Regions from separate parts of the Homo sapiens genome. Here all the other regions are linked to region 3. Evidence: promoter capture Hi-C in 16 types of primary human blood cells and fetal thymus (Javierre and others, 2016). All regions are on one chromosome and are shown on one strand. Each heading gives the region's core, a stretch centred on a gene start or on the middle of the fragment in contact. The rest is flanking DNA. Distances are from core to core; before and after follow the strand shown. Region 1 holds the start of WDR18 (WD repeat domain 18). Region 2 holds the start of FSTL3 (follistatin like 3). Region 3 holds the start of PRTN3 (proteinase 3).

Region 1 (2,876 bases), core at 363-2,862, 140 kb before region 3:
TCTGCAACTCCTGCCAGGACGTAGAGACCATTGGGTGATGCAGTCAGACAGGTGACAGGCCCGGGGCACATGATCTTCTGCTGGAGCTGGTCCTAAGGATGCACAGTCAGCCTCGTGAGCCCCATGCAGGACACGGGAGCTACTACAGCAGTGGAGGGCGAGGGGAGGGGACGCCTGGGCAATGGCTAAGTCAGAGAACCAGGAAGAGGAGTCGGGAGCAGGGTGGTTTGAGCAAATGCATGGTCCAGCAAGGAAGTGTTCGCCCCTGCAAGAGGCTTCGAGGCTGGAGGTGGTAGATGTGAGGTTGGTGCTTCCTCTGAGGGTCAGAGGGGCCCTGGGTGGGAGGAGTACAGGAACAGAACAAAGAGGATCCAGAAGGACACTGGGGCCCAAGAGCCCAGTAGGCTTGTGCCCCAATCCTTCTATCCATAATGTCCAACCTAAGACCCCAAGCCTCAGCTTCCTCCTCTCTAAAATGGGAAAACTCAGCCGGGCGTGGTGGCTCACGGCTGTAATCCCAGCACTTTGGGAGGCTGAGGTGGGCAGATCACTTGAGGTCAGGAGTTCGAGACCAGCCTGGCCAACATGGTGAAACCCTGCCTCTACAAAAAATACAAATGTGGGCCGGGTGTGGTGGTTGGTGCGGGCCTGTAGTTGCAGCTACTCAGGAGGCTGAGGCCCGAGAATCGCTTGAACCCTAGAGGCAGAGGCTGCAGTGAGCCGAGATCGCACCACTGCACTCCAGCCTCAGCGACAGAGTGAGACCCTGTCTCAAAACTAAAATAAAATGGGAGAAATTTATGAGTTGTGTGTAGACTCCATCAGGCAATGCTGGAGCACAGAGCCAGTCCCAAGAGATCTCAGCGGGCACACGGGGGAAGCGAGTAGCTTCAGGGACTGGCTGCATTTGGGCTTGGGAGTAGAGGGGAAACTGTGGGCGACGGTGAGTATCTGTTGCTTTATTGGAGGAATAAACATGAGTTTCCTGCGCCACCCCTTCATGGGAGACTCCCCCAGACCTTGGTCCTTCTCCCTTTTCCTCCAGAACCACAACATCCACAGAGCTCATAGGCCCCTTTTAATCAAATTTCGCGCTCCAAGAACTCGTGCATGCGCAATTGCCCCAAGGGACCCCCCGGAGCGTCTCCCATTTTCCCCCACTGCCCCCATAGCAGCTCAGGCCTGAGCCCCGCGCGTGCGCAGAGCGGCCTAACAGGTCGCACGTATCTCCCCAAAGCCCCCAGACCCGCGCATGCGCAGAGCGCCCGAACGGAGACCACCTCCCCTCCCCACGCCAATTCCGACTAAGGGTGCACGCGGCCCCCACCAACCCATCCCCCGACTTCAGCCTCGGGCGCCCCATGACCCCAGCAGCGAGACCGCACCGCCGCACCTTCCGCTGGAGCTCCCAGGCGCTGATGTAATTCTTGCCCAGCTGCGCCGCCAGCAGATACTCGCCATTGAGCAGCGCCAGGCCGCGGGGTCCCGCCTGGCCGCCGCGGTAGGTGAGCAGGTTGGCGCCCGAGTGAAGTTCCCACACGATGCAGCTCCACATCGGGGCCGCCGAGTCCGTACACACGGCCACCTCCATGGGCGCCGCCATCTTGCCTTCCCCACCGCCCCGGACGTGCGTCATCATGAGCGAGACGCGGACGACTGCCCCACGCGGGCCAGAGCGGCGGCCCCGCGGCCCCAGCGGGTGGCCGACCCGCGCATGCGCCCGTGCCTCGGAGAGAGGGGCTTTCTTGTGAAGTGGGATTTCCCGCTTACCTGAGACTCGAGGGTCGCGCGGCCTGCTTAGAGATCTGGGGAGGCGACTTCTTCCAAGGCCCAGGGTCTCCGGCGATCAGTTAGTAGCTCTAGAGCCGGGGTACCTGACTTGGCCTTTTCCTCCTGGGCATTTTTGGCCAAGTGACTCAAGCTCTTGGATTCATTTATTTTTAAATGTTCAAATAATAAAGTTCCGACGTCACAGGCCTAAATGACACATTGCGCCTAAAAGAGAGAGCGCACACCCAGCAACATGGCTAGTTGGCGATGAATACATTGGAATTCACTGCTTCCTTATTTATTTAGTTTTGTAGAGCCAGGGTCTCACTGTCCTGCCCAGGCTGGCCTCGAACTCCTGAGCTCAAGTGATCCTCCCAGCTCGGCCTGCCAAAGTGCTGGGATTACAGGCGTGAGCCACCGCGCCCGGCCCAGTGTTTCCTTATTGGTCGACATCTGCCTCCCCCTTGACCCCTCTTTAGGGGCCTCAACATCTAAATTATTAGTCGGATAGCTTGGTGTAGGTCAAACAAGTCGCCAGTTCTGTCCGAGCCAAGCAGGGTCTAACTTCATGTCACGGCTGCCCGTCACGGACCATGTCTGAAAACGGCATTCAAAAAAAAAAAAAGGCCGGGCGCTTTGGCTCAGGCCTGTAATCCCAGCACTTTGGGAGGCCGAGGTGGGTGGATTACCTGAGATCAGGAGTTCGAGACTACCCTGGCCAACATGGCGAAACCCCGTCTTTACAAAAAGTACAAAAAGCCGGGCGTGGTGGGAGGCTGAGGCAGGAGAATCGCTTGAACCCGGGAGGCGGAGGTCTCAGTGAGCCGAGATCCCAGGCACTCCAGCCTGGGCGAATGAGACTCTGTCTCAAAGAAAAACATATATCTATTATTTATTTATACTAAATATATATCTAGTAGAGATGGGGGGTCTCACTGTGTTGCTCAGGCTGGTCTCCAACACCTGGGCTTAGGCCTTGGCCTCTTAAACCGCTGGGATTACAGGCTTCAGCCACAACGTCCGGCCTAAAAACAGTATGATTTAAAATGTGCAATTAGTTGCCAACCCCTTAAAAAGGGATAAAAAGGGAGCATTCATTTAAAAGT
Region 2 (2,904 bases), core at 61-2,560, 160 kb after region 3:
GTTACGCACGGAATGATCTACCCCCACCCAGGAAGAAGGGGCAGAAAACCACATGGGTGTCCCCACCCTGGCTCCAGAACCCTGGAAATGTCTCCTCCCCTCTGAGCTCCACGTGCCCCCCCCCACAGCCTCACCACCAACCCCCACCCACCCCAGGAGGTCCCTTCCCGTACCCTCCAAGCCCCCAGGCCAGGGGCTGGCACCCTGCCCAACCCCTCAAACACCACCAAACACCAGGCACTGGGCATGTCAGGGTCAGCAGGCCCTGGAGCCGCTTCTCCCGCCTCTGCCCTCTGTCTAGACAGCACCCGAGGGCGAGGGCACGCGGAGCCCCGCGCCTGGCAGCCCCCCCACCGCCTGGCCCGCCTCTTACTCACTCCAACTTGGGAACATTCCCCTTGCATGAGCTCACTGTCTCCCCAGGGACGTGGCCTTCGGGGAGGGGGCTCTGCTCTCCCTTTGGCGCAGGGCTGGGGTGGGGTGGGGCTGCAGGGATGGGGGGTGGGGAGCCAGAGAGCCCCCCATTTCTTCCCCCGTCCCTGGGGGCAGGAACGGCCACAGCCCCCATCCCAGAGCGCTTGCTGGTTCACAGACACTGCCAGGGACCAGCTTGTGGAACGCAGCACCTTGGCACCCATCATAGGAGGGGAAACTGAGGCCAGGAGTGGGGCCGTCTCCTGCCTGGCACCTCCCGGCAAGTCCCAGGTGTGAGACTCCATGCCCCGTCTACCCAGGACCCGGGAAAGCTCTCAGCCCCAGCTGGAGGGCCTGGCTCCCGACACCCAGCACTACCTCTCGGCACCAGGACCGACCCGGACGGTCGCGGCTAGAACCCTGGCTTTGCCTGCTACAGGCTGTGTGACCCTGAGCCTCAGTTTCCCCATCTGGAAGACGGAGATGAAGAGAGCTCCGGCACTATCGGGATGGCACAGGTTCAGGGAGGGGAGAGGTAGACACTAAGCGCTCAATAAATGTCAGCGGTCATTGTGATTAGAAACCTCTGCTCTGCTGACCTCTTGGTGACCCTCCTTCAGACCTTCCCGGCTCCAGCTTGCGCCGGACACCGCCCTCGCCCCCGCCGCCGCCGCCGCGCCCCCCGACGTCCCCCCGGCCGCATTCCGCGCAGCCCCACGTGGGTGGCCCGCCCCGCCCGCCCCTCTGGCCGCCCCACTCACCGGGCGCGGGGTTCCCCGAGCCCATGGAGCTCACGAAGCCCACGGCCCAAGCCAGGGCCCCCCAGGGCAGAGGCCAGAGTGGCCCTGGCGCCCCGGGACGCATGGCGAACGCAGAGACGGCAGCGGCACCGACTTCCCAGCGCGCGGCCGGCGCTCCCTATAAAGGTCCCGCGGGCCGCGGGCGGGGCGGGGCGCGGGGCGGGGCGCGGCGCGGGAGTGGCGGGGGCGAGGCCGTGTCCCGCGCGGGGTGGGCAGGCGCCGGGCCCGGCCGCTGCGGGGGGCAGTTGGGGGCGAGCGCCCGGGTCCCCTTCCGGAGCCAGAGAATGCATTTGGGGAGATGTGGCTGGACCCAGGGCGGAACCGGGACAGGGGTGTGGGTTCGAGGTGGTGGCAGCCTTTTGGGTGGATCGAGGGGCCGTCTCCAGGAATTAAAGTGGGTTTGGGGGTCTTCAGTTTCAGGGGTGGCGGTGAGGTAACGGGGACCCAAGAGGAGCACGTCTGTGGATCCCTGCATCCCGTTTCTGTGATTTGCATGTGGTCACTTTCATGGTCCAAGTGTGGTCTGAGCCCCCCAACCCGGCCTCCTTGTTCCCGACCCGCCCCACACACCCAAAACCTCAGCTGGATATGGTTCCCTGCTCACAGCGCGGGCCGCGCACCCGTCCACCTGGCCGCTGGAGCCGGCCTGTGGGTGGGGAGTGGTTGGGTGTGGGACAGAACGGGGTGCGGCCGGGACAGACCCAGAGACACAGCTCCTTCCAGCATCTCGGACAACAGCAGGCCTCGCCCAGCCACGGCCCCCAGGGAGGCCACTGCGTGTGTGTGTGTGTGTGTGTGTGTGTGTGCGCGCGCACGCCTGGCCTTTGTCCTGGGCCCCTGGGCAGCTCTGCCCCATCAGCCCTCCAAGCCTTTGCAGACATTCCCCCAGATCACCTCAACAAGAATGTTTACTAGGTTTTTTCCTCTCCCTCCAAGATTCAGCAAACACTGTTTCCAGCAGAGGCGTTTCCAACAATGTATGACAGCGACATCTGCGTGGGCCTGGAGGCGCTGCGCCCGAGGGGGCTTTCGTGCAGCCAGACACATTTCCTACTCTGGAGCTGATTCTGTCATGGGGGCCTCCAGATTTGTCAGGCGCCCTTGGCGAGCGCAGGGGAGCCCCTCTGTTCCTGCTTCTAGGGCATCAGTGAACATCTCTTTTGGCCAGAGGGACCCTGCGGGGTGCTGGGGTGCCACGGTGACCAAGGCAGACCCCATCACACCCTCACCGAGCTCCTGGTTTGGACAACAAAATGCAGAGACAAATTAATCTATAACTTCAAGGAGTGGTAAATGCTTTCAGGAAAATACAGAAGGTTGAGGTGGTGGAGAGCGGTTGGGTGTCTGCTGGGCATGCCTGTGTCTGGCCACTCGCTGTGCCGGCATTGCCCACCCCGCAGGTGGAAACGGACGTGTCCAGCAGCCCCACGGCACAGCCCCTTCTCTGGCCTGAGTGAGATCTGTGCCCACAGAAGACACACCTGTACCCTTTCCTCCACCTTAGCTGCCCAGCCTGTGTCCCCCAGCAGCCAGTGGCCAGGGGCCAAGTTCTGCCTTAGTGGCACTGAGGGGGGACACCCCGCCGTCTTGACCTGGCCTTGGCCTCTGGCATTTCCCCCGGGAATCTCCCCGGCTTGGGGAGCAGGGCAGGGACGGGACCCTGTATTCTCACTGAGGGGGGACACCCCGC
Region 3 (2,714 bases), core at 191-2,690:
CAAAAAAAAAAAAAAAAAAAAAAAATCCTGGGCGCAGTGGCTCATGCCTGAGTGAGACCCCATCTCAAAAAAACAAAACAAAACAAAATAAAAAAAAAGAAGCAAAAAAAAAAAAAAAAATCAGCCAACAAAGAGACCCATTTTGCAGATGAACAAACTGAGGCATTGAAAATCCCCCTCAGGTCAGGAGTTCGAGACCAGCCTGACCAACGTGGTGAAACCCCATCTCTACTAAAAATACAAAAACTAGCCAGGTGTGGTGGTGTGTGCTTGTAATCCCAGCTACTCAAGAGGCGGAGGCAGGAGAATCATTTGACCCCAGGAGGCTGAGGCTGCAGTAAACTGAGATTGCACCACTGCACTCCAGCCTGGGCGACAGAGCAAGATTCCGTTTCAAAAAAGAAAAAAAAAGGGCCAGGCGCGGTGGCTCACGCCTGTAATCCCAGCACTTTGGGAGGCTGAGGCAGGCGGATCACGAAGTCAGGAGATCGAGACCATCCTGGCTAACACCTTGAAACCCCGTCTCTACAAAAATTACAAAAAATTATCCAGGCATGGTGGTGGGCGCCTGTAGTCCCAGCTACTCGGGAGGCTGAGGCAGGAGAAAGGCGTGAACCCGGGAGGCTGAGCTTGCAGTGAGCCGAGATCGCGCCACTGCACTCCAGCCTGGGCGACAGGGCGAGACTCCGTCTCAAAAAAAAAAAAAAGAAAAAGAAAAAGAAAATCACCCTCAGGATAGGGACCTGAGGGGGCCCATGCTCTCTTCTTCCCCTGATTCCAGCATCACTAACTCCTCGACCCTTTCACTCACTCACTCATTCATTCATTCACTCATTCATTCGTTCACTCATTCACTCATTCACTCATTCATTCACTCATTCACTCATTCATTCACTCACTCATTGATTCATTCACTCATTCATTCGTTCACTCATTCACTCATTCACTCATTCATTCACTCACTCATTGATTCATTCACTCATTCATTTGTTCACTCATTCACTCACTCACTCATTCATTCACTCATTCATTCATTCATGCATATTCACTGAGCATTTGCTGAAGGCTGGGTGCTGTCCAGGAATTCGCCTGTTACTAGCTAATTCCCAAAACAGCTCCTCAGGAGGGAAGGGCTGGGTTTTGCCCGTTTTACAGATAGGCAACTGAGTCAAATGGCCAGGGCTCCCCCTTGCCCTTGTCCTCCCCACCCCTGCAAGCGTTGGTCCCGAGCAGTGAGTGGAGTCTCCCCTGACCCTGCCTCAGTTTCCCCAGCTGTGCCAGAAGGGCTTTGGATGGACCTCGTGGTGGATATTTCCCCACAATCCACCGGGGCCTGGAGGCTGGATGGATGGGCACGTGGCTCACTCACCGCTCAGCAGCAAGGCCAGCAGCACGGACGCCAGGGCAGGGCTGGGGGGCCGGTGAGCCATGGTGGGGTCCAGGGTGCACCCACGGTCAAGCTCCTCTTATAGCCCAATGCCAGAGGCCGTTGAGTTGCCCAATGCCCAGGCTGGGTCCCCACTTCCTCCTTTTGCCTTGGGAGCCTGGGAGTCAGAACGGACTCCGGGGAGGAGGTGGGGGCTTTGGGCTCAAGGTCCCAACCTTTGTGGGGGCGGGGAGGCTGGCTGTCACCCACCCAAGTCGGGGGTCCCTGGCCAGGTGGGCAACATGGCCACAGCCCTCAGAGCAACACATGCCCACGTGCCACCCACAAGGAGACGCCTCCCTGACGAGGTCCCTGTGGCCCCAGCAAAGCCGGCCGTGGCAGGTGTGTCCCGTGGGTGGGTGAGCTGGAAACGGACAGACAGCAGGACGTAGCAGGGGACAGGATGCAGAGCTCGGGAAGGCAGGGCCCCACCACGAGTGCCCTCAGTGCCTCACCTGAGGCCCCAGCGAACATCCTCCTGCCAGTTTTGTCTGGGGGTTTTCTTCCCCCTTTAAGGCCAGGATTCTCAATCAAGAGGTGATTCTGCCCCCAGGGGACCCTGGGCGAGGTCTGAGGACACCTGTGGCTGTCACGAAAGGGGAGCTCCTGGCATGGAGTGGGTGGAGGCCAAGGATGATGCCTAGCACCCTGCAGTGCCCAGGACGGGCCTGCCCCAGAGAAGGATCCAGCCCCGATGTCCACAGGGCCCAGGGGAGAGACCAGTGTTCATTATTTGGGGAAAAAAATGGCCAGGTGCGGTGCCTCACACCTGTAATCCCAGCACTTTGGGAGGCCGAGGCGGGTGGATCGCCTGAGGTCAGGAGTTCAAGACCAGCCTGGCCAACATAGTGAAACCCCATCTCTACTAAAAATACAAAAATTAGCTGCGCGTGTTGGCGGGCGCCTGTAGTCCCAGCTACTCAGGAGGCTGAGGCAGGAGAATCACTTGAGCCTGGGAGGCGAAGGTTGCAGGGAGCCAAGATCGTGCCACTGCACTCCAGCCTGGGCAACAGAGCAAGACTCCATCTCAAAACATAAATAAATAAAAATAAAAAATAAAAAATCCAGTCTGCCCCCTGCTCACACCGGACACCAGAATAAACTCCCGATGGGGCGTACGGCATAAACCCGGGGGACCCCAGCTCCCGGGACTCGCCTCCTCTCTCCCTCCCACTCAGGGTGTGGATTTCAATGTGTGCAGCCTCCTGGGACCTCAGCAGGGCAGAGGATCATGGGACTCAGAGTCTCTTGGGGTCTGTGGAATCCTCTAACCCTGGGGTGATTCTGC

What was found. The method cuts DNA at HindIII sites, captures the fragments that hold promoters and counts their contacts. A CHiCAGO score of 5 or more calls a contact.
Region 1: the fragment with the promoter of WDR18 here is called in contact with the fragment with the promoter of PRTN3 in region 3 in 12 of 17 cell types (neutrophils, monocytes, total CD8 T cells and 9 more); the score reaches 14.7 in neutrophils.
Region 2: the fragment with the promoter of FSTL3 here is called in contact with the fragment with the promoter of PRTN3 in region 3 in 4 of 17 cell types (erythroblasts, M0 macrophages, monocytes and 1 more); the score reaches 6.6 in erythroblasts.

What each region holds. Positions count from the first base shown.
Region 1 is chr19:983,081-985,956 of GRCh38, reverse strand. It overlaps WDR18 (WD repeat domain 18), which reads right to left and starts at 1,612. Exons shown (of 10, transcript NM_024100.4): 1 at 1,394-1,612; 2 at 1-92. The coding sequence starts at 1,603. RefSeq lists enhancers at 1,293-1,472, 1,503-1,652, 1,077-2,018 and a silencer at 1,703-1,792. The HindIII fragment of the contact is 36,612 bases long and covers 1-2,876 here.
Region 2 is chr19:674,798-677,701 of GRCh38, reverse strand. FSTL3 (follistatin like 3) reads right to left here and starts at 1,310. Exons shown (of 5, transcript NM_005860.3): 1 at 1,176-1,310. The coding sequence starts at 1,278. The HindIII fragment of the contact is 16,650 bases long and covers 1-2,904 here.
Region 3 is chr19:839,725-842,438 of GRCh38, reverse strand. PRTN3 (proteinase 3) reads right to left here and starts at 1,440. Exons shown (of 5, transcript NM_002777.4): 1 at 1,370-1,440. The coding sequence starts at 1,430. The HindIII fragment of the contact is 23,301 bases long and covers 1-2,714 here.